4 separate regions of the Homo sapiens genome follow, and regions 2, 3 and 4 are each linked to region 1. The links are contacts of gene promoters, found by promoter capture Hi-C in human tissues and cell types (Jung and others, 2019). All regions are on one chromosome and are shown on one strand. Each heading gives the region's core, a stretch centred on a gene start or on the middle of the fragment in contact. The rest is flanking DNA. Distances are from core to core; before and after follow the strand shown. Region 1 holds the start of LRRTM3 (leucine rich repeat transmembrane neuronal 3). Region 2 has its middle 13 kb from the start of LINC01515. Region 3 has its middle 210 kb from the start of LINC01515. Region 4 overlaps LOC105378339 (a long non-coding RNA gene).

Evidence for each region. The method cuts DNA at HindIII sites, captures the fragments that hold promoters and counts their contacts. A contact is called where the count stands out against the background at its distance.
Region 2: a contact is called between a fragment that was not itself captured here and the fragment with the promoter of LRRTM3 in region 1, in 1 of the 25 tissues and cell types used here (dorsolateral prefrontal cortex).
Region 3: a contact is called between a fragment that was not itself captured here and the fragment with the promoter of LRRTM3 in region 1, in 1 of the 25 tissues and cell types used here (heart right ventricle).
Region 4: a fragment that was not itself captured here is called in contact with the fragment with the promoter of LRRTM3 in region 1 in 1 of the 25 tissues and cell types used here (dorsolateral prefrontal cortex).

Annotation. Positions count from the first base shown.
Region 1 is chr10:66,924,754-66,931,644 of GRCh38, forward strand. It overlaps LRRTM3 (leucine rich repeat transmembrane neuronal 3), which reads left to right and starts at 1,283. Exons shown (of 3, transcript NM_178011.5): 1 at 1,283-1,834; 2 at 2,168-3,699. The coding sequence starts at 1,831. All of the region lies in intron 7 of CTNNA3 (catenin alpha 3), which reads right to left. The region is part of intron 3 of LOC101928961 (a long non-coding RNA gene); the gene reads right to left. RefSeq lists an enhancer at 670-1,526 and a silencer at 1,146-1,255. The HindIII fragment of the contact is 13,899 bases long and covers 1-3,445 here.
Region 2 is chr10:65,555,422-65,561,735 of GRCh38, forward strand. No RefSeq gene overlaps it. Among named protein-coding and RNA genes, the nearest start is that of LINC01515, 13 kb to the right of the region's middle. The HindIII fragment of the contact is 3,718 bases long and covers 2,214-5,931 here.
Region 3 is chr10:65,357,706-65,363,918 of GRCh38, forward strand. No RefSeq gene overlaps it. Among named protein-coding and RNA genes, the nearest start is that of LINC01515, 210 kb to the right of the region's middle. The HindIII fragment of the contact is 6,059 bases long and covers 1,430-6,213 here.
Region 4 is chr10:65,858,979-65,865,511 of GRCh38, forward strand. All of the region lies in intron 1 of LOC105378339 (a long non-coding RNA gene), which reads right to left. Among named protein-coding and RNA genes, the nearest start is that of CTNNA3-AS1, 220 kb to the right of the region's middle. RefSeq lists an enhancer at 3,560-3,729 and a cis regulatory region at 3,645. The HindIII fragment of the contact is 3,945 bases long and covers 2,163-6,107 here.

The DNA.
Region 1 (6,891 bases), core at 33-2,532:
TCTAAGTAACATACAGATATTAAAATGACTTAATTCTCAAAACATGAAGTGAGTTTTTGTTTTTATGCCCGTTTTGCAGATGAGAAAACTGAGGCATAGGGAAGGTAAGTAACGCGCTTAAGGTTACATAGCTGGTAAATTGTAGCCAGGAGTTGGAATCTAGGTGCCAAAATCTATGCTGTTAATCACTAAACTACGCTGCCTTAGTTTTTATACTTCTTTAGGAACCTCAGACCAAAAGAAATTTAGGCAATTCTAATAGAACAAGCAAGAATTTGCTAATCACAGCTTCCTTGCCCCAATCCTTTAATCGGCTTCATTTTCACTGACTTCTTTTTTAAATGAAGATAACAATGTTGTTGAACAGGATCATCTAGTGGTTAGTGGTTCGGCATAAGAATGACTCGCTTCTGAAGCTCAGCTCTAGCACTCGCTTGCTGTATGACCTTGAGAAAGTTACCTCCCCAAGTCTGTTTCCTCATCTTTAAAAGAGAGGTTATAATAGGACCCACATCATACTATTGTTTAAAGAGAAAACAACGTAGCCCATTTAAAGCACTTAGAAAGTGCTCCATAAATATTATTAGTGTAATAAATAGCAGCAACATCAATAAAGTATGAACCAAATGATCTCTTGATTCGTATCCTAACACTAAAAATGGTTTATTTCCCTTCTAATTAAAAGAGAATTACAACAACCAAAACAACAAACGAAACTATAGCCATAAAATCAATTATATCGTCTGTGAGAAAACCGGAAAGGCTATTGGACACATTAATTCACTTGTCATCAGTCATCCCCTCTATTCCAAAATGTTTGTGTTCTAACATCCTGAGACACCTTGCATAATATAATCACTGTGACTCCAAGAGGTCAAATGGGCAGGCAGTTAATGCTTCTCTGTGAAAAGCTCAATAATTCATTTTATAAATTTCAGTTTAAAGCCTGCGTTGAGGTTAAGAAAAATTGACGTTCGGTCTGTGAACTTAATGTCAAGCTCCAGAAAAACTCTGGGCAGCACATGTTTAGCAATTAAGTGGACACAGACAATAAAGACGTTGCCAAATTGTAAAACAAGACTTGGAAATCACAGAAAATGTTGCTAGTTATTGATCACGGTGACCATTCAGTTCCTACTGAGCCACCCAAAAGAATCATTCATTTTCCAGCAGAGAGCCTGCTCATTTGCAAGATAAAAGAGAGACATTTCTGCACATGCCCATAATGTTCTTCACCACTGGGGGCAGCTTTACATAAGACTGCATTCACTGAAACCAAAGCAACAGTCCGAGCAGCTTTCAGAATGACAGTCTGCAGAAGTGAGCTGAGCGTGTGCGCGGTACGGGGCTCTCCTGCCTTCTGGGCTCCAACGCAGCTCTGTGGCTGAACTGGGTGCTCATCACGGGAACTGCTGGGGTATGGAATACAGATGTGGCAGCTCAGGTAGCCCCAAATTGCCTGGAAGAATACATCATGTTTTTCGATAAGAAGAAATTGTAGGATCCAGTTTTTTTTTTAACCGCCCCCTCCCCACCCCCCAAAAAACTGTAAAGATGCAAAAACGTAATATCCATGAAGATCCTATTACCTAGGAAGATTTTGATGTTTTGCTGCGAATGCGGTGTTGGGATTTATTTGTTCTTGGAGTGTTCTGCGTGGCTGGCAAAGAATAATGTTCCAAAATCGGTCCATCTCCCAAGGGGTCCAATTTTTCTTCCTGGGTGTCAGCGAGCCCTGACTCACTACAGTGCAGCTGACAGGGGCTGTCATGCAACTGGCCCCTAAGCCAAAGCAAAAGACCTAAGGACGACCTTTGAACAATACAAAGGATGGGTATGTTTTGTCATTTTTCTTCTTTCCTTCTTAAAAACAAAAAACAAAAAACCTCTAGTGTGTGTAATAATTCTGCCTTAATTATTTTAGAGATTACCTTGCTCTGCTCTAAGACTATGAATTTATTTGCTTAGTGGCATGTTTCCTTGTTTAACTATTTAAAAAAACAAAACACTAAAGACAATTCTCTTTAATTACAAAGAGATAATATGTGATGTTAAGTGTTATTTAGATTTAAATTTTTAAAAATGAAAAATATATGCCTATTTTTGCTTGATTAAGGATTAATTCTTTTTTGGGGGGATAACTTTTCTAAGTTGTTTTTATTTCCAGGTTTCAATGTAATTAGGCTACTGAGCGGATCAGCTGTAGCACTGGTTATAGCCCCCACTGTCTTACTGACAATGCTTTCTTCTGCCGAACGAGGATGCCCTAAGGGCTGTAGGTGTGAAGGCAAAATGGTATATTGTGAATCTCAGAAATTACAGGAGATACCCTCAAGTATATCTGCTGGTTGCTTAGGTTTGTCCCTTCGCTATAACAGCCTTCAAAAACTTAAGTATAATCAATTTAAAGGGCTCAACCAGCTCACCTGGCTATACCTTGACCATAACCATATCAGCAATATTGACGAAAATGCTTTTAATGGAATACGCAGACTCAAAGAGCTGATTCTTAGTTCCAATAGAATCTCCTATTTTCTTAACAATACCTTCAGACCTGTGACAAATTTACGGAACTTGGATCTGTCCTATAATCAGCTGCATTCTCTGGGATCTGAACAGTTTCGGGGCTTGCGGAAGCTGCTGAGTTTACATTTACGGTCTAACTCCCTGAGAACCATCCCTGTGCGAATATTCCAAGACTGCCGCAACCTGGAACTTTTGGACCTGGGATATAACCGGATCCGAAGTTTAGCCAGGAATGTCTTTGCTGGCATGATCAGACTCAAAGAACTTCACCTGGAGCACAATCAATTTTCCAAGCTCAACCTGGCCCTTTTTCCAAGGTTGGTCAGCCTTCAGAACCTTTACTTGCAGTGGAATAAAATCAGTGTCATAGGACAGACCATGTCCTGGACCTGGAGCTCCTTACAAAGGCTTGATTTATCAGGCAATGAGATCGAAGCTTTCAGTGGACCCAGTGTTTTCCAGTGTGTCCCGAATCTGCAGCGCCTCAACCTGGATTCCAACAAGCTCACATTTATTGGTCAAGAGATTTTGGATTCTTGGATATCCCTCAATGACATCAGTCTTGCTGGGAATATATGGGAATGCAGCAGAAATATTTGCTCCCTTGTAAACTGGCTGAAAAGTTTTAAAGGTCTAAGGGAGAATACAATTATCTGTGCCAGTCCCAAAGAGCTGCAAGGAGTAAATGTGATCGATGCAGTGAAGAACTACAGCATCTGTGGCAAAAGTACTACAGAGAGGTTTGATCTGGCCAGGGCTCTCCCAAAGCCGACGTTTAAGCCCAAGCTCCCCAGGCCGAAGCATGAGAGCAAACCCCCTTTGCCCCCGACGGTGGGAGCCACAGAGCCCGGCCCAGAGACCGATGCTGACGCCGAGCACATCTCTTTCCATAAAATCATCGCGGGCAGCGTGGCGCTTTTCCTGTCCGTGCTCGTCATCCTGCTGGTTATCTACGTGTCATGGAAGCGGTACCCTGCGAGCATGAAGCAGCTGCAGCAGCGCTCCCTCATGCGAAGGCACAGGAAAAAGAAAAGACAGTCCCTAAAGCAAATGACTCCCAGCACCCAGGAATTTTATGTAGATTATAAACCCACCAACACGGAGACCAGCGAGATGCTGCTGAATGGGACGGGACCCTGCACCTATAACAAATCGGGCTCCAGGGAGTGTGAGGTATGAACCATTGTGATAAAAAGAGCTCTTAAAAGCTGGGAAATAAGTGGTGCTTTATTGAACTCTGGTGACTATCAAGGGAACGCGATGCCCCCCCTCCCCTTCCCTCTCCCTCTCACTTTGCTGGCAAGATCCTTCCTTGTCCGTTTTAGTGCATTCATAATACTGGTCATTTTCCTCTCATACATAATCAACCCATTGAAATTTAAATACCACAATCAATGTGAAGCTTGAACTCCGGTTTAATATAATACCTATTGTATAAGACCCTTTACTGATTCCATTAATGTCGCATTTGTTTTAAGATAAAACTTCTTTCATAAGTAATCCCCCACATTCGCTGTTAGCCTCCTGGTGGGACCAAATCTACAGTTATAGAAGGTTTGCACCTCACTGGCAAATCAAGGAAAGAGGTGAATGATTCCAGGTGCTCGGAGCTTGAGCTGATTCTTGGAGATGACTCAGTTATGGGAACATTTTACAGACAGGCAGAGCCTTTAAACCAATGCCTGACTTAGAAAAGAAAATTGCAGGAAACTATCAAAAGATGGTGCTAGGTTAAAGCAGCACCCTGAGCAGTTTCCAGAGGTGTCTGAATTACAGTAAGGCAAGCACAGGGACAAAGTGATGAAGGGTTAAAATACTGCAAGCAGACAACTGCAAAATGTGAGGAGATGACAAAAATGTAAAGTTTTCGACTCAGCCTTGTCTCTGAAACCCATCTCTGTAAAATCAGACTAGAGGTTTCACTGCCAATTTCTTCTAGCCTGTATGTTTCATAAATAAATAAATGAAACAGCATTGAGAAGCCAGATTTCTCCACCACACCTCACATTAGTTAGGGAGTTTTCAGATAAGGTTCGCGAATGGGAAAGCAGCTTGCTACAGGCATGTGGTTGAGAGCTTACCAGAATTTCTCTTTCCAGTTTTTTCGAAGACCCTAATGTAGTTAGTAGAATCCTTAGCTCTGTCCTGTTCTGTTCAGAATTTGTCAGGCTGCCCTGTTGTGTTCCATTACATGTCCTGCACACACCAGTCCCCTAATGACAGACACTTCATTCAGATGTGTAAAGAGAACACATTCCAAGACGTGCCTTCCACCCACAGCCTCATTGAAAAGGACGACTTTGATAACACCTTAATAAATGTATAAAACGAATCTTAGAGGAAAAAAGACCAACACTATGACAGTTCTCTGTTGCTTTTCTATTGCTGACATTACAATGTCCCTGCGTTCATCTGTATTGTGAACTCATCCATCAGTACAGTTCTGTACAGACCCTGTTGGCAATCTGCAAGCTGCATGCATGTTTTTATGTCATTGGTGAAAGTTTATTGACTGCAGCACGAATATCATAGCTTCCATATTTGAGTAACTTGAACCACAGTCAATTAAGGTTTTTAGAAAGATATATTTAGTCTGTATTCTCCTTCATCCTCCAAAATGAACAGTTCTATTATAGAAGCAAATATCAGGAACTGCAACATTGAGGCTGTTTCATTTAATTTGGCTTGCCAACCCCTACATCTTTAACCATGTCCCTCTTCTCTGAAAACAGAATCACTGCAGCAACAAAGAAAAAGTGAATGGCTATTTTTACTAATTTTTTTTTATTGTTTGGGGGTTTTTCATATGCTGAGAGGAAAAATCTAGGCAAGTCACCATAAAATAAAATTTTAAGGATGCCAGATCATTAAAATCATACTTTTATAAGCAATAAAGAAAAAGAAATAGTTAAAGTGGATTTCTCAAGGTACTTTGATATTGATTAAATCTTACAATAGATGCCACTTCAGAAAAACATCTTAGTTACAATGTTTACCCATGAATAATTGTTGAATATACATGTATTCATGACAAAAAGTCACATATTTCCAATGGATTAATAATGCAGATACTTCCTCACAGCTTACTGGATGACTGAGCTTATTGTGATTTTTTTACTGAAGTTGTAACTTTACATTTTTCATAAAGCATCAGTAAATACATATTCCATCTTAAAAAGAAATTTTCTTTGGCTAGCCTCATTTTTATCTGTACTAAAGATGTTTGTATTAATGAAATGCAGTCTTAAAGTGAAGAACCCCATTTCTATTCTTTTTCACTTAACCTTCTGCCTTACTTGTGATGGATACCAAATATATTTAGGCAAGGAATACTTATATTTTTGAATTATTGCAAATTCTCAATGCCATGGTGCTACTAGTATATATAAAATATGCTTGCTGTATTGAAAAGCATTCCTAAAATTCAAAGCTACTTGGAATATAAAATATGATATAACACTAAATGAATCACCAATATTTTGAAAGCTGTCACTTTTTAATGCCTAACTTTACTAATAAACATAATAATAGATAAGAACGAAAATAAAATCCCTTAGGTGGTAAAACTCATTTTGATTTGGGACATGAAATTATGGGAAAAAAGTTCTTTCTTTCTCCTCACTCTTTGAGAATGAATCTTCTGTAATTCTCAGTATCTTCTGAGCACAGATATATAATTCTTGTAGATTTAATAACTAGTTTACCACTGTAAATTTTAAAACGCCAACTGCCAGTCTCCTGCTCAAAAGTTGTTGCCTCACCTCCATCCCATGGTACTTTCTGGACTACATATCATAAATCTATTTGTATAAGTATTTCAAGTTCATGCAGATTAGAGAAATGTGATTGATATTTATTTTTCTAGTACGTATTTACATAAAATATTGGACTTCCCTCAAAGGTGACAACAGTTAAAAAAAAAAAAAAAAAAAGCCTGACCTGTTGAACTATACAACAGAACACAGAATACTTTGCTTTACCAAAACAGAGAAGAAATGGGATTTAGTCTCTAAACTTCATGTGAGTTTTTTTCCATTTTTATTAACCCCAGTACACATAGTGCTACCACAGCATGTAGTTAAATAGTCCCAGTGCCACAGTCTTGTAAGCAATACTTATGCAAGATATATTGCATTGAAATGAGTTTGTATTTTCCAAGGACGTTGACATTACATCTTTTCAAAGAATTTAAACAATTTTTTACTTGATTTGGTGAGTGAACTACCTAAGTAGACAGGCAGTAAATTGTCTTTCTATGGAGCAGCAGTGACCTCTAGTGTCTGGTTAGACTAACCACAGCTATTCACACATTTTAGCTTTTTATCCTGAATCCTTATGTAAACGTGGTTTACAACATGTTTTTTG
Region 2 (6,314 bases), core at 2,823-5,322, 1.4 Mb before region 1:
TAGAGGGAGGTGGAGTCAAGAACTCAGATCCTATGAATAGCTGCATCCCTGGCCTACGCAGCACTCCTATCCTTTTCCCAGCTTCTTCCCCCCAGCCTCTGCACCCCCCAAAAATGTCAGGAGCCTTCTCTTCAGGACTTCCTAGCTCTCTGGGCAGTGTTTTTAGTGAGATGAATCCATCTCCCCAGCCCCCACCCTGCCAGTTGTCACTGGTATTTCCCTCAACCCTCACTCAGTAGCATTACTTGGGAAAAAATACTACTGTAGGGGTTCAACTGTCTTATAGGTCTAGAGAATGCTACCTTTACCTCTTTTCAACGTTTGCTTCTTTGTCCTTTGTAGGTAAGAAAACAGCTTTATGTTACAGCATTAAGAGTCTTTTCTGGCCAGGCACGGTGGCTCATTCCTGTAATCCAGCACTTGGGAGACTGAGGCGGGCGGATCACGAGGTCAGGAGATCAAAACCATCCTGGCTAACACGGTGAAACCCAGTGTCTACTAAAAATACAAAAAAAAAAAAATTACCCGGGCGTGGTGGCGGGTGCCTGTAGTCCCAGCTACTCGGGAGTCTGAGGCAGGAGAATGGCGTAAACCCAGGAGGTGGAGCGAGTAGTGAGCCAATATAGTGCCACTGCACTTCAGCCTGGGCGACAGAGTGAGACTCCATCTCAAAAAGAAAAAAAAAAAGTCTTCTTCTGTGTGTTGAGAATGTTATGGTCAGGAGAAGGCAGAGCCTAGAGACATCTTAAAGATTAGTGAGTCAATACTTTCAGTAATGCCCCTTATGACTCACACCTTCTTTAAAAAAGGCGGGGTGGGGGGCTTTGGGGAAAACTCATACAGAAGTCATCTTATCAATGCGCAAAAGGAAATTCAGTAACCAAAAGCAAGTTTTATTAAGTGTTCAGGTAAAAGTGAGCATTATTGGAAGGAACTGTACAAATGAAGTGATCACTATCTTCATAAAAAGAAAAAAAGAATGGAGCTGTTCCAGTGTAGAAAAGATTAAATATTTAATTTTAAGATAACCTCATATTGTTCATGGATAAGTCTGCTCCTGTCCTCTTTTCTGGGATTAGCCATAACGAAAAGTCTTCTATTTAAACATATGACTTCCCCTCTGCCAGAATAATTTTATGCTTATTAAAATTTCTGATCATAAGTAATTGCCAGAAACTTCTTACTCTCACTTAGACCTTATTTCTCTAGCTTCTCATCTGCTCTGGCCCTTCATGTTTGGCAGAATGATCAGCTTTTTTGATTCACAATCCTGCGTTTCTACCCTTGCCTTAGGACTAGAAGATACATAACAATATAAGTAAGTGTGGCTCAATCTCACTTCAGGTGTAGGCAGAAGGAGGGAGAGATATTCATAGGTCTATTTGGAAAATGAAGGCATAGCAGCCTTCAACTCTAGACATCTTGGTTCTAAGGATCCTAATAAGCTGATTCAGAGATTTTACATATATATATATGGGATTCAAGTTCCCAAGGACATGATATGTAGACATAAATGGTTTTGGGGTCCAAGGTCAGAATGAAAAGCAGGAAAAGGGGCAGGTTATAAAAGAAATGGACCAGGCATATAGGATAGTACTAAGATTTGAATGTGTCCCCCAAAGTTCATGTGTTAGAAACTTAGTTCCCCATGCAACAGTGTTGAGAAGTGGAATGTTTAAGAAGTGACTAGGTCATGAGGGCTTTGCTCTCATTAATGGATTAATGTCATTGTCCTGAGAGTGGGTTTTTTACAGAAGCAAGTTCAGCCATCTCTTGATCTCTTTTACCCTCTCTCAATCTCTTGCCTTCCACAGTATAATGATGCCGCAAGCTGATACTCACCTGAGTGGACTCCTTGATACTGAATTTCCCAGTTCAGAGTCTTCTGGGCTTATAACTCCAAAAAAGTTTCACTGGCTATGGATGAGATGGGTTGCTAAAATGTGGCTAAGCTTGGTTCTCTTTAGAGCAGCGATCACAAACCCAAATGCCTAATAAGGACAGATATATAAATGAATGAAGCAGATTCTGGGTAAGAGCATTATGAACACAGTGAGTAATTGGTGAAAACTGGCAAAATGAAGAGTATTCACATTGTCTAGTGAGAACAGCTGCTACTCAGTTGCAGGCAATTATTGCCATTTGAAAATAAGGCCCAGTGTTGTCATCTAAAGATTTATGAGGAGCTGAATATCTAAACTTTCAGGTGAAATCTCTTACTAAAAATGTGGACAGGAATTTACAAAGGAAAAACCATACTCTACTGGAAATAATAAAGCAAAGTCTGGTTGCAGACTATAAGTTTGAGATATCTATTTAGGTTTTAAGAAAATCTGAGTTGGCAAGTCAAACTCTAACCCTATCAGGAAATCTCTGAGCATTGGCCTAATAAAAGCTCGACAATGTTAAAAGTTATTAAACTCTGTTATTTCCCGCCTCTCCACTGTTTTCTATATAGACAGGATTTTCTTAAGCTTATTTCTGGCCTCTAACTATACCATTACTCACTTTGTCCCAAAGGGTAGTGAAGGGTAGTGAAGTGACACTTGGTTAGTGAGTATGGGAGCAAGAACTTAGTATGCCTAGCACTCCTCTTCCTTTCTTCCTCTTGAAGTAAACTACTCCTCAGGCAAAGGGACCTGCCACTGTTCTGCCAGGTACTTTATTACTTAGAAAATTGCTGCCCCAGACCTGAGTGGCTTGGTTTCAGTGATTGAATAGTTTGCCCAATTTAGGGATTGTGTTTGAGTGAGCAGACATGCTCAGTGTATGTGAAATAACATTCTGCAGCCTGAGCATTCTATGAGTTATAATTTAGCTTCCATATGTTACTCCATTCTATTTTTCAAATGAAGTCTTATGGGAAAAAGGGCTGCTATTTATCAGTTGCCTCTGAAGAACTTTAACAAATATGTGATCATTTTATTTTACCATCAACTAGTGTGCTGTTTTAAAGTCTGCTAAAATATCATAAAGCTTATTTTGAAAATATCGATCTTGTCCAATTTTTATTTATACATACAAAATCTAGAAGTCAATATCACTGATTTACATAAGGTTGCCCAGAAGTTACTGTCAAGACTATGGTAAAAAGTAAGATGAATTTCTTGTTTTGGGACTTGGAAGTTGTCACTCTCATTCTTACAACAAGAAAATAATCGAACAATTTGAAAAGGAACAACTCTTCTTAAATCTATCTAATAATTGCTGTCACAGGGCAAGCTGCCACCATAAAAACCGGAGAGAAGGGCAATCAACTTAATGATTTGACAACTTCACAACTTTGCAAACCATCACAATTTGACATACTTCGAATTTTGAATTCTGATCTTTGCCTGGCCTAGGACTATGTGGTACATAAGATATTTGACACTTTTTTCTTATATATATATAAATATATACATATATTTGCTCTTTATATATACATATATATGTATATATATATAAAATAGGCTTTGTATTAGGTGATTTTACCTAACTATAGGCTAGTGTGAGTGTTCTGAGTACACTTAAGGTGAACAAGGCTAAGTTCTGTAGGTCTGGTGTATTAAATGCATTTTCAATTTACAAGATTTATGATGGGTTTATCAGAATGTAACCCTATTGTATGTCAAGGAAAATTTCTACTGTGTATCACAGTACTTTCATGAATCTTAACCTTCAGGAGCCTAAATAGATTCTTATGGAGAAGATGAGAAAAAAGTATCCCTTCCTGTTTCCAGCAGAAGGAAGGGAAAAGTAGCCATTTTGAAATGCACTCAGAGCTTTCTGTCCTCCTTAACAAAAGCGTGTCCTCAAGGGAAGCTCTTTTGTCACACCCTAATTGACTTTATTTTTACCAGAGCAAGGTCATTTAATAGAGAAAGCATTGACTTCCCAACAAATGGAACTGAAACAAATACACATCCAATAAAATTTTTTAAAAAAGGAATCTTGATAGTTTTTACAAAAATTAACAAGATAACTTATAGACTTAAATGTAAAATGAAAAACCATAAAAATCTAGAAGATAGCATAGGAGAAAATCTGTGTTGGGTGTAGAGTCTTAAACATAAGACCAAACCGTCATGAAATTAAAAAAAAAAGGCATAACTCAAAGATAGTGCAGGTTTGGTTCCAAACTGCCACAATAAAGTAAACATTACAATGAAGTGAGCCATGCAAGCTTTTTGGTTCTTTCCCAGTGCATATTAAAGTTATGTTAACACTACGCTGTAATCTATTAAGTATGTAACAGCCTTATGTTTTAAAAAGTACAAAGCTTCATTAGAAAATAATTTATTGCCAAAAATAATTGCTAATAATCACCTGAGCTTTCAGCAAATTGTAATCTTTTTACTGGTGGAGGATCTTGCCTCCATGTTGACAGCTGCTGACTGATCAGGGTAGAGGTTGCTGAAGGCTGGGTGGTTGTGAAAATTTCTTAACATAAGCCAGCAGTGGAGTTTGGCATATCATTTGACTCTTCCTTTAACAAAAGATTTATCTGTAGCATGCAATGCTGTTTGGTAGCGTTTTACCCATAGTGTAGCTGCCCAACAGGTTCACCTTGCCTGCTGCCTAGACAGAGTCAATTTATCAAAACAGGAGAGTTGCAACAACAAAAAGAAAATAATTCATGCAGAGCCAGCTGTAAGGAAAACTGGAGTTTTATTATTACTCAAATCAGTCTCCCTGAAAATTCGGGAATTAGAGTTTTTAAAGATAATTTCGTGGGTAGGAGGCCAGTGAATCTGAAGTGCTGATTGGTTGGGTTGGAGAAGAAATCACAGGGAGTCAAAACTGTCCTCTTGCGCTGAGTCAGTTTCTCTATGGGGGCCAAAAATCCAGATGAACAAGTTTATCGATCTGAGTAGTGCCAGCTGATCCATCAAGTGCAGGGTCTGCAAATATCTTAAGTTCTTAGGTTTTACAATAGAGATGTTGTCTGCAGGAGCAATTTCAGAGGGTCAGAATCTTGTAGCCTCCAGCTGCATAATTCCTAAACCATATTTCTACTCTTGTGGCTAATTTGATAGTCCTGCAAAGCCAGTCCAGTCCCGAGGCAGGAAGTGGGTTTGTTTTGGAACAGGGCTGTTACCAACTTTGTTTCAAAGCTAAACTATAAACTAAGTTCCTCTCAAAGTTAGTTTGGCCTACACCCACCAATGAACAAGGATAGCTCAGTGGTTAGAAGCAAGATGAAGTCAATTAGGTCAGATCCCTTTCACTGTAAATAACTTTCGCAGTTATGATTTTGCAATGGCAGTTTCAATAATAGAACTTGCTATACTGGAGTCAATCTTTTCAAGCCCTACCACTGCTTTATCAACTAAGCTTAGAAAATATTCTAAATTCTTTGTTGTCATTTCAGCAATGTTCACAGTATCTTAACCAGGAATAGATCCCATTTCAGAAACAACTTTCTTTGCCAATCCATAAGAAGCAACTGCTCACCCATTCAACTTTCATCATGAGATTGTAGCAATTCAGTCACATCTTCAGGCTCCATCTACAATTCTGCAGTTACTTTCTTCACTGAAGTCTTGAACTCCTCAAAGTTACCCATGAGGGTTTAAATCAACTTCTTCTAAACTGCTGTCGATGTTAATATTTTGACCTTCTCCCATGAATCGCAAGTGTTCTTAATGGTGTCTAGAGTGGTGAATCCCTTTCAAAAGGTTTTCAATTTATTTTGCCCAAATCCATCAGAGGAATCACTATCTATAGCAGCTATAGTCTACAAACCAAAAATGAAATTCTAAGCGCCCCCCAACCACCTCAATGGATCCCTCCTCTTGGCTAAGGGTATTCTGGAATTTGTCTGAAAATCTAGTTCAGGCCATGATGGAATAGGAGGTTGGACATACCTCATTATACTCCTCAAGTGTTAATGTCAACGAAGAACTTATGTCTAATAAGAAACATTTACAATATACTCTCTCTGAAGCCTGCTACCTGGAGGCTTCATCTGCATGACAAAACCTTGGTCTCCCTAACCTCTTATCAGTTTTTTTTTTTGACGGAGTCTTGCTCTGCTGCCCAAGCTGGAGTGCAGTGGCATGATCTCAGCTCACTGCAACCTCCACCTCCCGGGTTCAAGCGATTCTCCTGCCTCCATCCCCTGAGCAGCTGGGATTACAGGTGCCTGCCACCACATCTGGCTAATTTTTGTATTTTTAGTAGAGATGAGGTTTTACCATGTTGGCCAGGCTCGTCTCGAACTCCTGACCTCAGGCAATCTGCCCACCTCGGCCTCCCAAAGTGCTGGGATTACAGGCTTGAGCCACCATGCCCAGCCCCAACCCCTTATCTTAACCCAGACATTCCTTTTT
Region 3 (6,213 bases), core at 3,209-5,708, 1.6 Mb before region 1:
TGCTTTCTGAGACGGAGTCTCTCTTTGTTGCCCAGGCTGGAGTGCAGTGGCACGATCTCAGCTCACTGCTACCTTCGCCTCCTGGGTTCAGGTGATTCTCCTGCCTCAGCCTCCCAAGTAGCTGGCATTACAAGCATGCACCATCACGCCTGGCTAATTTTTGTACTTTTTAGTAGAGATTGGGTTTCACCATCTTGGCCAGGCTGGTCTTGAACTCTTGACGTCGAGTGATCCTCCCGCCTCAGCCTCCCAAAGTGCTGGGATTACAGACGTGAGCCACAGTGCCAGGCCACTTTTTTTTTTTGAGACAGTCTCACTCCTCCTACCACAGCCTCCCCAACAGCTGAGAGCACAGACATGCAACAATGTGACTGGCTAATTATTTTTATTTTTTGCAAAGATGGAGGCTTGCTATGTTGCTAAGGCTGGTCTTGAATCCTGGGCTCAAACAATCCTCTAGCCTTGGCGTCCCAAAGTGCTGGGATTACTGGCGTGAGTTACTGGGCCCAGGCCATGAGTGAACTTTTTGAGGTGATGGCTAAGTTCATTCATGGTTTTTTTAGAGGTTCCATGACTATAAGTTTATAAAACTTATCGAAGTGTACACTTAATTTATTAAATTGTATTGCATGTGTTATACTTTAAAAATGATAACATCAATACAGTGTATAACTGAAACTCAAAGTAAGTTTGAAGAAAAGTATATTTTTAAAATATGCATTGCTATATGTAAATTCTTAAAAACATCTCTATCAAAAGACACAAATACCTCCAAAAATATTCAAAATTGTCCCTGAAGGGCAGTGTAACACCTCTGAAGTCTACTAGAATAAATCATTTAGTACTTTGCAGTATAGGTGAATTTGAGGAGAATATGCCTACATTTTGAAAGTAAATGAGGAGGTGGGAAAGGGAAATGATAATAGTTTGAACTCCATGTGGAAGAAAATCAAGGCACCCCAGCAAACAGCAGACACCAAAGACAGACATGCCATAGAGCCCTTCTTGAATTTTCCAGCTCAAACAACGCTCCCACTGAATGCAGCCACATGAGGGAGTCCAAGAGAAGCCAGCAGGGGAGCCAGCAGGCCATCTGTAGAATTGTGAAAAAAATAAATAGCAGTTCTCAGCAGTGAGAATCTTGGATGGTTTATTACATAGACATGGAAGACTGAAATACCCTAAATCAGGATTAGGGGCTGATTTAAAAATGTATAACATTTCATTTCAAAAATCTAAAACTTGTAACATTGGGGTTGGGACTGGTTAGGAATGGAGACAACAGAATAGCAACGAGATCGTGAGTGGAGGCTGGAAGGGCAGAGAGAAAACTGCCACTGGAGGCCAAAGAAAGGGAGACGATGTCATGTAGAAGGAAAAACAAAGTGGTAAAATGTCATCAGTGGTAAATAAAAATAGAGAATGTATGTAAGAAACTTGTGTATTTGGTTTAGGGGAATTTTAGGCAGACTGTTCATAGCATCAGCTATTTTTATTTTCTTTTAGACGTATACATTATGAGGTATGGAAAAAGAGTGATGAACAAATGAAGGAAGTGTTCATTTGTCAGGCAGAATTTGCAAATATAGGAATTCTAAGTCCAAAGCAAAATTGTGAGAAATAATAAATTGTTGTCTTAAGCCATGGTGTTCTGGGGTATTACAGGGAACAAAAGAATTGCCACAGCATTTATCATTAGATACAACACCAGAAGCCAAAATGCACTTGTTCTTAAATAAAATAATTTCTTCAAGTTAAGTTGAAGATAACTTGAGTAAAGTTTTGTTGTGTTATTTACATTAGTTTGAGCTATATGAATTTGCATATTATCAACCATTTTGTCTTACAAAAATGGTACTTTGATATGGTTCAACTTCATAGGTTTTCCTTACTTTCTCCAGTAAGCTACATCATGTTAATATACTCCTCTCTTTCCTTCCTTTCTTCATTTAACAAATATTTATTCAGTATTTTTAATGGAAAGTACTGTGATAACATAAAAATTCATTAGGCTCAAAAATTTTCACAGCATATTTATAATACAGTAAAATAAAATAATTATAGTATATTTATAACATACTTTATAGTATACAAAGCATTTCTTATTATTTTTTCCATTGTTATCTATACATTGTCATTCTGCAGTAGAGGGGCATAACAATGCATAATACTTCACAGCACTTATGACCTAAGTATATTGGAAAAGTTGCATAATTTACTAAACTCAATTTTCTCATCTGAAATTTACACTTCCCCTATATAAAAATGGAAATGAGAGTGACACTTCCTCTTCTAGCTGTTTTAAGGATTAATGAAAATAATGCATGTAAAGAATTTATAATGCTCAGTTCACTCACAGTAAGCTCCCAAAATGTTAGATCAAAACTTCTGCCCAGTAGTATTATTAAATTAGTATTATTACCTCACTCTTCTAACCATTTCACTGACAAGGAAAACAAGATTGGGTGAGTGTAATTGAAATTTTCATAGTAGCAGATCCAAGTTAAAAATCTATGCCTTTCTTTTGAATACCAGCCCAGTCTTTCCCTAGATCTTGAGACCCACCCTGGCCTTTTGACACCTTTAGTTAACTATTGTACTTAGATGTATTATATGTAGTAGAAATTCTTTAATTTGCCTGTATGTGTCTGAAACCTCCAATATTTGCCTCCCTCATCCTAAAATACATTGAGCTTGAGAAAACCTGACAAAGTTTGTCTTTGATGGACATTTAAACAAAATCTGTGTCTTATGATAGGAACAATAATGGATTAATTCAAATTTTACAGTTTTTTTTTAACCACTGTTTTAGCAGAAAACTTGAATAATGAATTTAGACAACATTTCTTTTCATAGCCAATTTTATATGTGAATTCATTGTCACATAGTATCTGGCTTCTGGCATGTGCAATACATATTTGTAAAGAACTATTTGATGTTATTAGATTATATTGATATTATCGTGTGCCTGCACTTAAATAAGTTGAGACTAATTTAATCTCATCACACATCGCAGGTCAGATTTTATTAAGATTATTCCCATAAAACATTTAAAAATAAAAGCTTAGTGCAGATTTCCTGAGATAAATGTGATATTTTAACATATCAAGACTGTGATGGTCAATTTTATGTTCCAACTTGATGAGGTTAAGGGATGCCCAGATAAACATTCTTTCTGAGTGTGTCTCTCAGAGTGTTTCTAGAAGAGATAGGTGATTGAGTCAGTAGACTGAGTAAAGAAGATTCACCGTCACCACTGTGGGGTTGGCATCATCCAATCTGCTGAAAACCTGAATAAAACAAAAAGGCAGAGAAAAGTTGAATTTGCTCTCTCTGCTTGTGCTGGGACATCCATCTTCTTCTGGCTTGGGACATCTGATGCTCCTTATTTTTGGACTTCGGAACTTACACCAGCTTGTCAGCCTTAGTCCTTGGGTGTTATATCATCAGCTTCCCTGGTTCTTAGGCATTCATCTTTCATCTAAATTACACTACCAACTTTTCTGCCTCTCCTTCTTGCAGATGGCATATCTAACTATTGTGGGGCTTCTTGGCCTCCATAATTGTATCAGCCAATTCTCATAATAAACCTCCTCATATATATCTCTCTATATACTCTATTGGTTCTATTTATTTGTAAAACTCGAATCCACATAAATTCCATGGTGCCTTTAGACTAATATTAAGTCGAAAGATTTTAGAGTCTATAGTCTAAAGACTAAAGTCTAAAGTCTAATGACTTTATATTTGTCTAAAGGCACCATGAAATTTATGTGTATATTTTTAAAATTTTGTTACAATGCCCTGAAAGTTTGCTAGAAACATATGCTGATATTCTATCACAAATAGAAATTTTGCAATGTTTTGACATAGTTCCACTCCCAAAGCATAAAAACAGGAGAGAAGATACTGTTACACTCTATGGTCTTCTTTGCTGTTTTCTCTCTTTGCAGCTCTATCCGAATCCAATCTATCCTGAGCAATAGTTTAGTCTTCCTACAGGCTGGGTTAATTATTTTTAAATATTCTTCTACCCTAGATCTTGGTAGATTATCTGACAATACTATTTTTACCACTTTCTTACTCCAAAATGTTCTAATGGCTTCCTAATTTTCATTGCTTTAAACCAAATTTATTCTCACTGACTTGCAAAGCCTCCCATTGTGTATTCTACTCTTACCTAATCAGTCTTACTTTTCACTCCTCCAAATTGTATCATATGTTTGGATATTACCAGTGCACTACTGTTGTGTAAATGGTTTACTATTTCTGTCTTAGTCTTTGATGATGATGCCTTCACTCATGTTGTCTTCCCCTTTAAATTCCTTCTACTAAGAGGCACACTCCAAATAGTGCTCTATGTTCTCCATCCCCTTACTGACCATTGTCTCATTAATTATTATTTAATGCTTCCTAGGAAAGTGACTTCATACTTACTCCACCCTGTACATTTTCTTCAGTAGGAGAAATGGTAATAAGGAATGCAATATGTGCTCGTGAACAAGGGTCATTGCAAATGCAGCCTTCGTTCATTATAACTGGGAATTCATCTATTTAACCCAAATGTAGTCTGTATATTTTAGGGGTTTGTCCACTGGGGCTGATACTTTGCTTTTTAAAAAATTTGTTTTCAAATCTCTGATTCTTTTTTATTTATGTATCTTGTTTTTTCTCATAAAACATTAAACCCGTTTAATATTTTTATCAACTATTACCGATTCCATAATTATCCAGTTAGTACCATACATATTTTATTCCTGTCATTTGTCATTTGATAAGTATTGCCTTCTATTCCTGAAAATAATTTGAGGGTATTTATTTTTTCTTCTAAATCATAACGTAAGGTACTTCAAGTCGAAGACTTTAGCTCATACTTCAAAGCTTAATAAATGCATAAATATTCAGGCTTGATTTAACTGCTATACCAATTTATAATTAGTTGTCCAGTTGTGAATTTTGACAACAATGTGCTATTTTATTTGCCACTTTTTATATTATTCGCTGCTCTAGAGTCTAAGAATCTTGAAGATCAGTATAATTTCTTAAAATTTTCCTGTATTGCCTTCCAGACTAGCTTTACGCTCATATTTGATACTTAAAACAAATTCTTAGTAGTTGATTCATTGACTGAATTAGAAATGAGTTATCTGACTGCAAATGAAATCCTAAGATAAATATTCAATGAAGCATGGTGCCAGTGTATCTAAATTTAATTTTTGATTTGTTAACTTGACATAAACCTTTGTGGATATGGATGATTAATGCTTTCATTTCTAAAATAATATAAATTTGTATTAATTGGCTTGAGTCTAAGAACATTAATTTAAGCATAATATGTTATTTGAATACAGCTGCTCGCCCACATGTGGCCATCCCCAGGATCACAACTGGCTTGGGTGAAATCCACATACAGAGTCTTACTTTTATTTTGTTGTTGTTGTTTTGATTTGAAACATAGAGTCTTGCTCTGTCACCCAAGCTGGAGCGCAGTGATGTCATCATATCTCACTGCAGCATCTACTTCCTGGGCTCAAGCAATCTTCCACTTCAGCCTCCTGAGTAGCCTCAACCACATGCATGCACCACCACGTCTGACTAAATTTTTGTTTTGTTTTTTGTAGAGATGAGATCTCACTATATTTCCCAGGCTGGTCTTGAACTTCTGGGTTCAAGTGATCCTCCTGTCTCAGCCTCCCAAAATGCTGGGATTACAGGTGTGAGCCACTGTGCCTAGCCAGAGTATTACTCTTCTTATCTCACTTTTGGGAAATCTATTCCTTACTATCTTTATTCCTCTCAAATATGCTACCTTGTCTCCATCTCTTTCATATGACTTTGACTATGCTTCAAATTTTACAAAAACAAGAGAGCTTATCAGTTATCAACTCTCTAAGGTTAGACATGTTTACCTATAATGTTATCTAATATGTATTGAAGTCAGAGATAGTGATATTCAGGCTTATATCAAAAAATTATTCTTTTATCTTTGATTTGGCTCTTATCCTCTTTCCAAATACTCAGTATCTTTATTTCATCAAATATTCTCTAGTATCTTCCTCTACATTTGTTTCTTTCTCTCTGCATAGAAATATGTTGAAAATGCTTCCATTCACAAAATATGTTATTTTGGTTTTAAATCTCTTCTACATGCCCTATCATTTTTCCCCTAACATTTTGGGAAATAGTAGCTTACACTATAAGTACTGAATTTGG
Region 4 (6,533 bases), core at 2,885-5,384, 1.1 Mb before region 1:
TGTTTATGTTGTGTCATATTTGGCCATCGAGAGCCCCTTCAAGCTGTGCCTCTTGACATACCGCCATCACTTTTTGGAGCATTTCTTAACTTTATGCTGCCACAAGTTATTCCAGGATCAACTTGAATTTTCCATGTCCCAGGAGTTTTTTTTATTAGACAAAAATATTTAGAAAATAAGATCTTTGCACTAGATATTCTTACTTCTACTACTAGTGTAGGTTTTTTCTTAGCCTTCTGAACAGACATATGCACATACACATATATCTAACTCTATTTATATATTTATCTACCTATGTTTACAATATTTAAGTCAGAATTCATACTGACAACTCTAATTCCAAATTAACTCCATGGAATTCTTTCTAGCCTTTTCTTTCCTTGTTTATAACTCCTTCACTGGAAGAAGAAAATGGACTCTCATTATCTGCAAGGTATTTCCTTATTTACTTGGCCTTAGAATACTTTATATTTTATATAAAATATTTCAAATTTTTTTTTGAACACATAGTTATTTAATATTTAGAAATTTGTAAAATATTAATTTAAAAAATATTTAACCTTCAGATTAATTTATATGAATTTGTAATAGTGGAGAAAATACACTTTCTTTACAAATGCAGGAAAATTTATAAAGGGAATTATATTTAGACCCCTGGAGCCATCTAGAAGGTCATAACTTGGAACAAAACAACATGGTTAAAAAGATAATGCAGACAATGAATTATTACAGGCTAAACACAGAGTAGTGGACAGTGAAAACAGTTACTAGTATTAAAAACCAAAGAAAATGTTTCGGTGCCAAAACGTATAACATTTTGATTAAGAACATGGACTCTAGAGTCAGACTCCTCACATTTCAAATATAGGCTGTATCACTTACAAGCAGAATAATTTCATACAACTTTTGTACCTCATTTCCTCATTTGAAAAATGAACATGATAATAATGGGACCCAAACTTATAGGATTTTTAAGAGGATGTAATGTGTATTGTATATGATTGTGTATGTGACTTTGTATAAGTAAATGATTTCACATAGCTGTGTGATTTTGTATGTACTTGTGATTGTACATGTGTGTGTGATTGTGTATGTACATGTTATTGTGTATGTGATCATGTGAATACATATATATTTGAGCATGTATATGTTTTCCTGCCCATGTTTATGAGTATGTGATTGAGTCGAAGTATGTGATTATAATTGTGAATGTGATTATGAATATATGTTTATGAGAGTATGTGCATGTGTATGTAATATACTTACATATGTGCATGTGAGGATATGAGTCTGTGTAAAGTACTCAGAATGCTTGCCACATAGTAGGTGCTCCCTGGAAGCTAATTGTAGCTAAAAAAGGTAATTGCATTGAAAGGGAGGGAAGACATGGAGGGAAAACAGGCTGAGAATATTTTAACAACAGAATGACTTTGAGTAAAATTAGCACACTTTTGTTTGTGTTCAGAGGGGTGAAGACTGGTTTGGACAATTAGTGGGGAGGAACATTTAAAAGCTACTAAAATGAAAGCAAAGAGGCACAAGGTATCCATATTACCCTGTGAAAAACTAATTTACTAAAAAATACAGTATTTTCATATGGTTCTTTTTGTCTTGTCTTTTAGTATATAGTAAAAATGCCATTTTCAAGGTTACTTCGGTAGGTTCTACATCCTTCAGTGGGGTTGTGTCATTTATTTGTAATACCATTACATTCATTTGTAAGTGAAATCCAGAAGAAGAAGAAAGAAACAGGACAGCAAAACACATTTTAAAAGATATTGGTTGAAAGTTTTCAAAATTAATGACACATACCAAACCAGAAGAAAGACACTTAGATCACCAAAGTAGTATAAATACCAAACAAAAGTAAAAATGAAATAACCTCTGAACTCAATATAAAGTACAATGAACATTTCTAATATCTTTGTCAATCAGGGGCTCTGGTGGAGTCTTGAAACTAGAAAGAGGAATTGTTAAATAAAGAAATTTTATTCTCATTTTTAGCCATTTTATATCAACCAGTTAAATGGGATATTAAGCTTTCTATACAATGAAGGAAGAGGAAATTTCATATAAGCACACTCCCTCTCTTCTCAGAGGCCAGCATTTGAAATCTTTTGCATCTACTTGCAAAATGTAGACATATACAATGTGTACATCCCCCCTCCTCTAGCTTCCCATCTTCTGAGATTCCCTTTTGCCTTTACTTCTCATCCTACACACTTAAAACCACTTACTTAACATTTTGCCTTTATGTAGTAAATATTTGGCATCTCTGCTTATAAGCTTTGTCTCATTTGTGACTTCCTCAGTTACTCCTATAGATAACATTACTATTGTAAAACATAAGATTTGATTTGATTTGTTTTACAGACTGACCTTACCCAGATTCATGACTAATGACTCAACAGGTCCTGTGGCCTCACTCAGCAGCTGACTCAAAACACAAGGACTGTTTTTCACACCCCTGTGATTTTATCTCCAATGAATCAGCAAGCACTCATTACCTGGCCCTTGCCCTGCCCACCAAATTGTCTATATGAACCCTAACCTTTGAGCCTTTGAGAAGATTGATTTGAGTGATCACTGCCATTCTCCTGTGTGGCCAGCCTCAGGTTAATTAAACTCTTTCTCTACTGCAATGGCATGGTCTCTGTGAACCAATTTTGTCTGCACAGTGAGCAGGAAAAACCTGTGGGAGGATGATTATAGTACTTTTCACGGAATCTGAAGCCCTCCTGCCTCCTAGCTTTCAAGTACAACCCTTGCCTTCCATACTGTTCTTCAGATTTTGTTTTGCAGAGTCTTCTTGTGAGACATGTAGAAACAATGAATTTTTGAATCTGCCACATGATTACACCATTCAAGCAAATTCTGATCACCTTCTCTTGCATTAGTACTTGATTTTGTTTTTTTTTTCTCCATCTCCCTGTGCTTTATTTATAATTGATTTAAATTCCCTAGGCCATACCCTTATAGAAACTCTATTACTTTAAGGCATATTTAATAAGTATAAAAATATTACACCCTGATCTTCCAGGTCTTCTTCATTCAAATTTGTTCACATGTTGAACCATCTTGTAGCAGAATTCATCATTATAAGCTGTTTCTCAATTGCTTTTATAATTAATTCCTGATTTACAGCTTTGAGAGAACTCCTTGTATAGATCTTGGGGTCTTAGCTCCTCTGGAGGCATTAATTAATTTGGTACCTGAGTTCCTCTCTTTTATATTTTGTTAGATTTTTTTAACATCTAGTGGCTAATTGACCAATAATAGCTCAATTATCTCCTCTTCTTACTTCTACTTCTTAGTTCCACTTTTGTGTATAAAGTAGATCTCCTTTTTTATTGTATAGACAGACAGATGATAGAAAGATAGATAAATAGCCAGTCTGATCTTTAAGATCTGATCTTTCTCAAGAAGTCACTTCCTTCCATCTGGCAACATGTGTCCCATTTTACTTTTCTTTCATTTTTCCATGTTCAAAATTAGACTGAAGATAATTTTGAACTGTAACTGTTACCATTCACTCTCCTCTAAACACATATGATACCTAGAAGATCTAGGTTTAAGTCTTTTTAATTTTCTCCCCAGACTTTGTTATTACAGAATTACATAAAAATATTTTTCCACCTCAATCCAAGAAAATGACATATTTCCATATAAGGATCCCCACTCATTTTTGTCTGCTTGTCAGTGAGATTAACTAATTCAGTATAATTAACCTACAGCCCAGGTCTATAGACTATAATCAGAGTTTATGAAATAAACAATAAAATTTAGACTATGTGTGATTGGGGATGATTGCCTGCATCCTGGTAAGGACATAATAAAAGGGAAGAGTACAAAACAAACAAAAAAAAGATCTCTTCCAGTCAACTATGCTGAAAAAGACAAGTTGCCAATTATGCTTTAAAAAGCATAGTGAAGTTGTTTTGAGGTAAGACTTACCTAGAAATTAACAACAACAACAACAACAAAATATTATGACAATATGGCATCTAGAATATCCAGGTCTATAATTACATCTGTGGTCACAGTATGAGAAGCTACCAAATGTGCCACCTGTGTCTCACCTGGCCAGTTTCAGCAGATGTACCCAAAGCTTGATTTCCTGTACAGTACTTCAATCAAACCCATCCAGTATCTGTTCTTATTTATAAGGATTTCTTGCCAATTCCTTAACAGTTTGCCGTGGTGAGAGGAGGTATAAAAGTCATTCTAAGAATTATTTATGCCTTGCTTGGGTTTATAACCAATGAAGAGTAGACCCAAGCAACTGGGCCTGGCTGGATATGAATTGAGGATTCATGTGTTAGTATTACTAACTGGCCAGGCAGTTTCCTAATAGTTCACTACTCTGAAAGAATAAGGCCCTCTAATAAAGTTAAATTGGAGAATGCAGCTTAGCTCAATGATCAAAGTGGGGGCCACATTTAGAACTCCTTACATTTAGAACTGCATGACCATTGGTGGAAAGAACTGAGTCTACAGAGATATTATAGCTAATGACATAGAAGATTAGACATAGACCTTTTTCAAGTTCATGACTGCTGGCAGGAGAGGGAACACAAAGGAGAAAAAGATGGGCACACACTGTCTTCTTAATGTAGTGACCCCCCAACTCCTAGTGTAAATATAAGATGTTCAATAATAAGAGTAAATATATTTCCCAGAGGAGAAGACTGAATTAATTAGATGCAAAGAGAGACTAAAAGTGGTTAATTCCTGAAACCTGTTCTTGTGAAGAAAGAAAAATCGCATTTCTTTTTTCTATTAATTAACGTATTTTATTTATTTATTTATTTATTTTAGAGACCTGGTCTCGCTCTGTTGCTTAGGTTGGAGCACAGTGGGGCTTAATCATAGCCCACCGGGCTTAAGTGATCCTTCCACCTCAAAGTCTCAAGTAGCTGAGGCTACAGGTGTACATCACTATGCTTGGCTATTTTTTTTCTATAGAAGTGGAATGCAAAGATTGGTGAACTAAGAAATTTCTTAAAATAAACATTTAAAATTAGTAAAATTTTCAAAAAATATAAGAATAGATTGGAGAAGAAAAAATTCAGGTAACATTTTCAAAAAAGATGTCAAGAAAAGGGTATAATCAAAATACATTAATGTAAGAAAACAGAGTAAGAAGAGAGTGAGTAGAGACTCAGCTACAGGAATATATTTGGAGAAGAAAAATTATTGGAAACAAAATTGGGAATGGAAACCAGATGGCAAGGCCTAAAAAGAATAAGTAAAAGGAGACAAAAAAAACATATTCTTCACTTAAAAGTCTGGTAGAATGTGAAGGTTTTTCCATGATGGGCAGAATTGCACATGCTTACAATAACAGAAGGTCAAGGAAAAAAGGAAAAGTGCCTGGGATGTGAAAAAAAAAAAAGTATTCAATGAGAAGAGGCCTCTTGATTTGGTTCTGGGATTTATTTTATCAAAAAATCTATGTAGTTTCCCAAACATCTGGTGCTAAAAATTAAGGCAATTTATTGTGGAAATTAAGAGGCCAAGAAGGGATGTACAAGGTTTAGAGGAAACGAGGAGGGAAGGCCTTATTTCAAACTGGAGGGGAAATTTTTTCCTCTATAATTTCTTTCTGTTTCAAAATAAAAGTAGATTTTTAAAGAACCCAAGAAGTCTCACAGTTAAATAAAAAGTCTATCTACACTGGACATTTGTAAGTAAAATGAAACCTAACTCTGAAGTAGTGGGGAGGGGAGACAGAACACATGGTGTGTTAAACTAGCATGTGGTGAATGAGACTATGACCATGAGGCCTAGGGAAAAACATCCCAAAGAATAGACATGGGGAGTATGATAGGGAATCAGAATGAAGAAGGGATGCTATGCAGGAGTCTTGCTCTTAGCTTTGCTGCAGGGGTAGCATTACTTTTCTGTTTTTTTTTTTTAGATAGGGTCTTGCTCTGCCCCCTAGGCTGGAGTGTACTGGAGTAAACACAGCTCACTGCAGCCTTGAGCTCCTAGGTTCAAGACCTCCTGGGTTCAAGAGATCCTTCTGCCTCAATCTCTCATGTAGCTGGGACCACAGTCACATGCCACCATACCTGGCTAATTTATTTATTAATGCTTTTTGTAGAGATGGGTGTCTCACTTTGTTGCTCAGGCTGGTCTCGAACTCCTGAGCTCAAGCAATCCTCCCACCACAGCCTCCCAAAGTGTTGAATTACTGACATGAGCCACTGCACTCAGCCAGCATTATTTTTCATGAAACAAGACTACAGGGTAACAGTACCTCCCATAAAATTGCCCTGGAGAGTGATATGTTCTGACCCATCCTCCCAGGTTTGTAGTTAAGTGATATGACAGCTACCACCTTTAGTTCATGTATAGCTCTATGGGGTGTGGGACAGAGCCATGGGGGTTTGTTTGTTTTAATTTGATTTTCTCGTATTTTAATTAACATCAAGGTCTTAGACAGAGTGAAAGGGTTAACTGGGTCTAATTGTATTACATTGGCACAGCAGTAGATTAAAATAAATCAGATTCCTAGGTTTAGAGCTCAA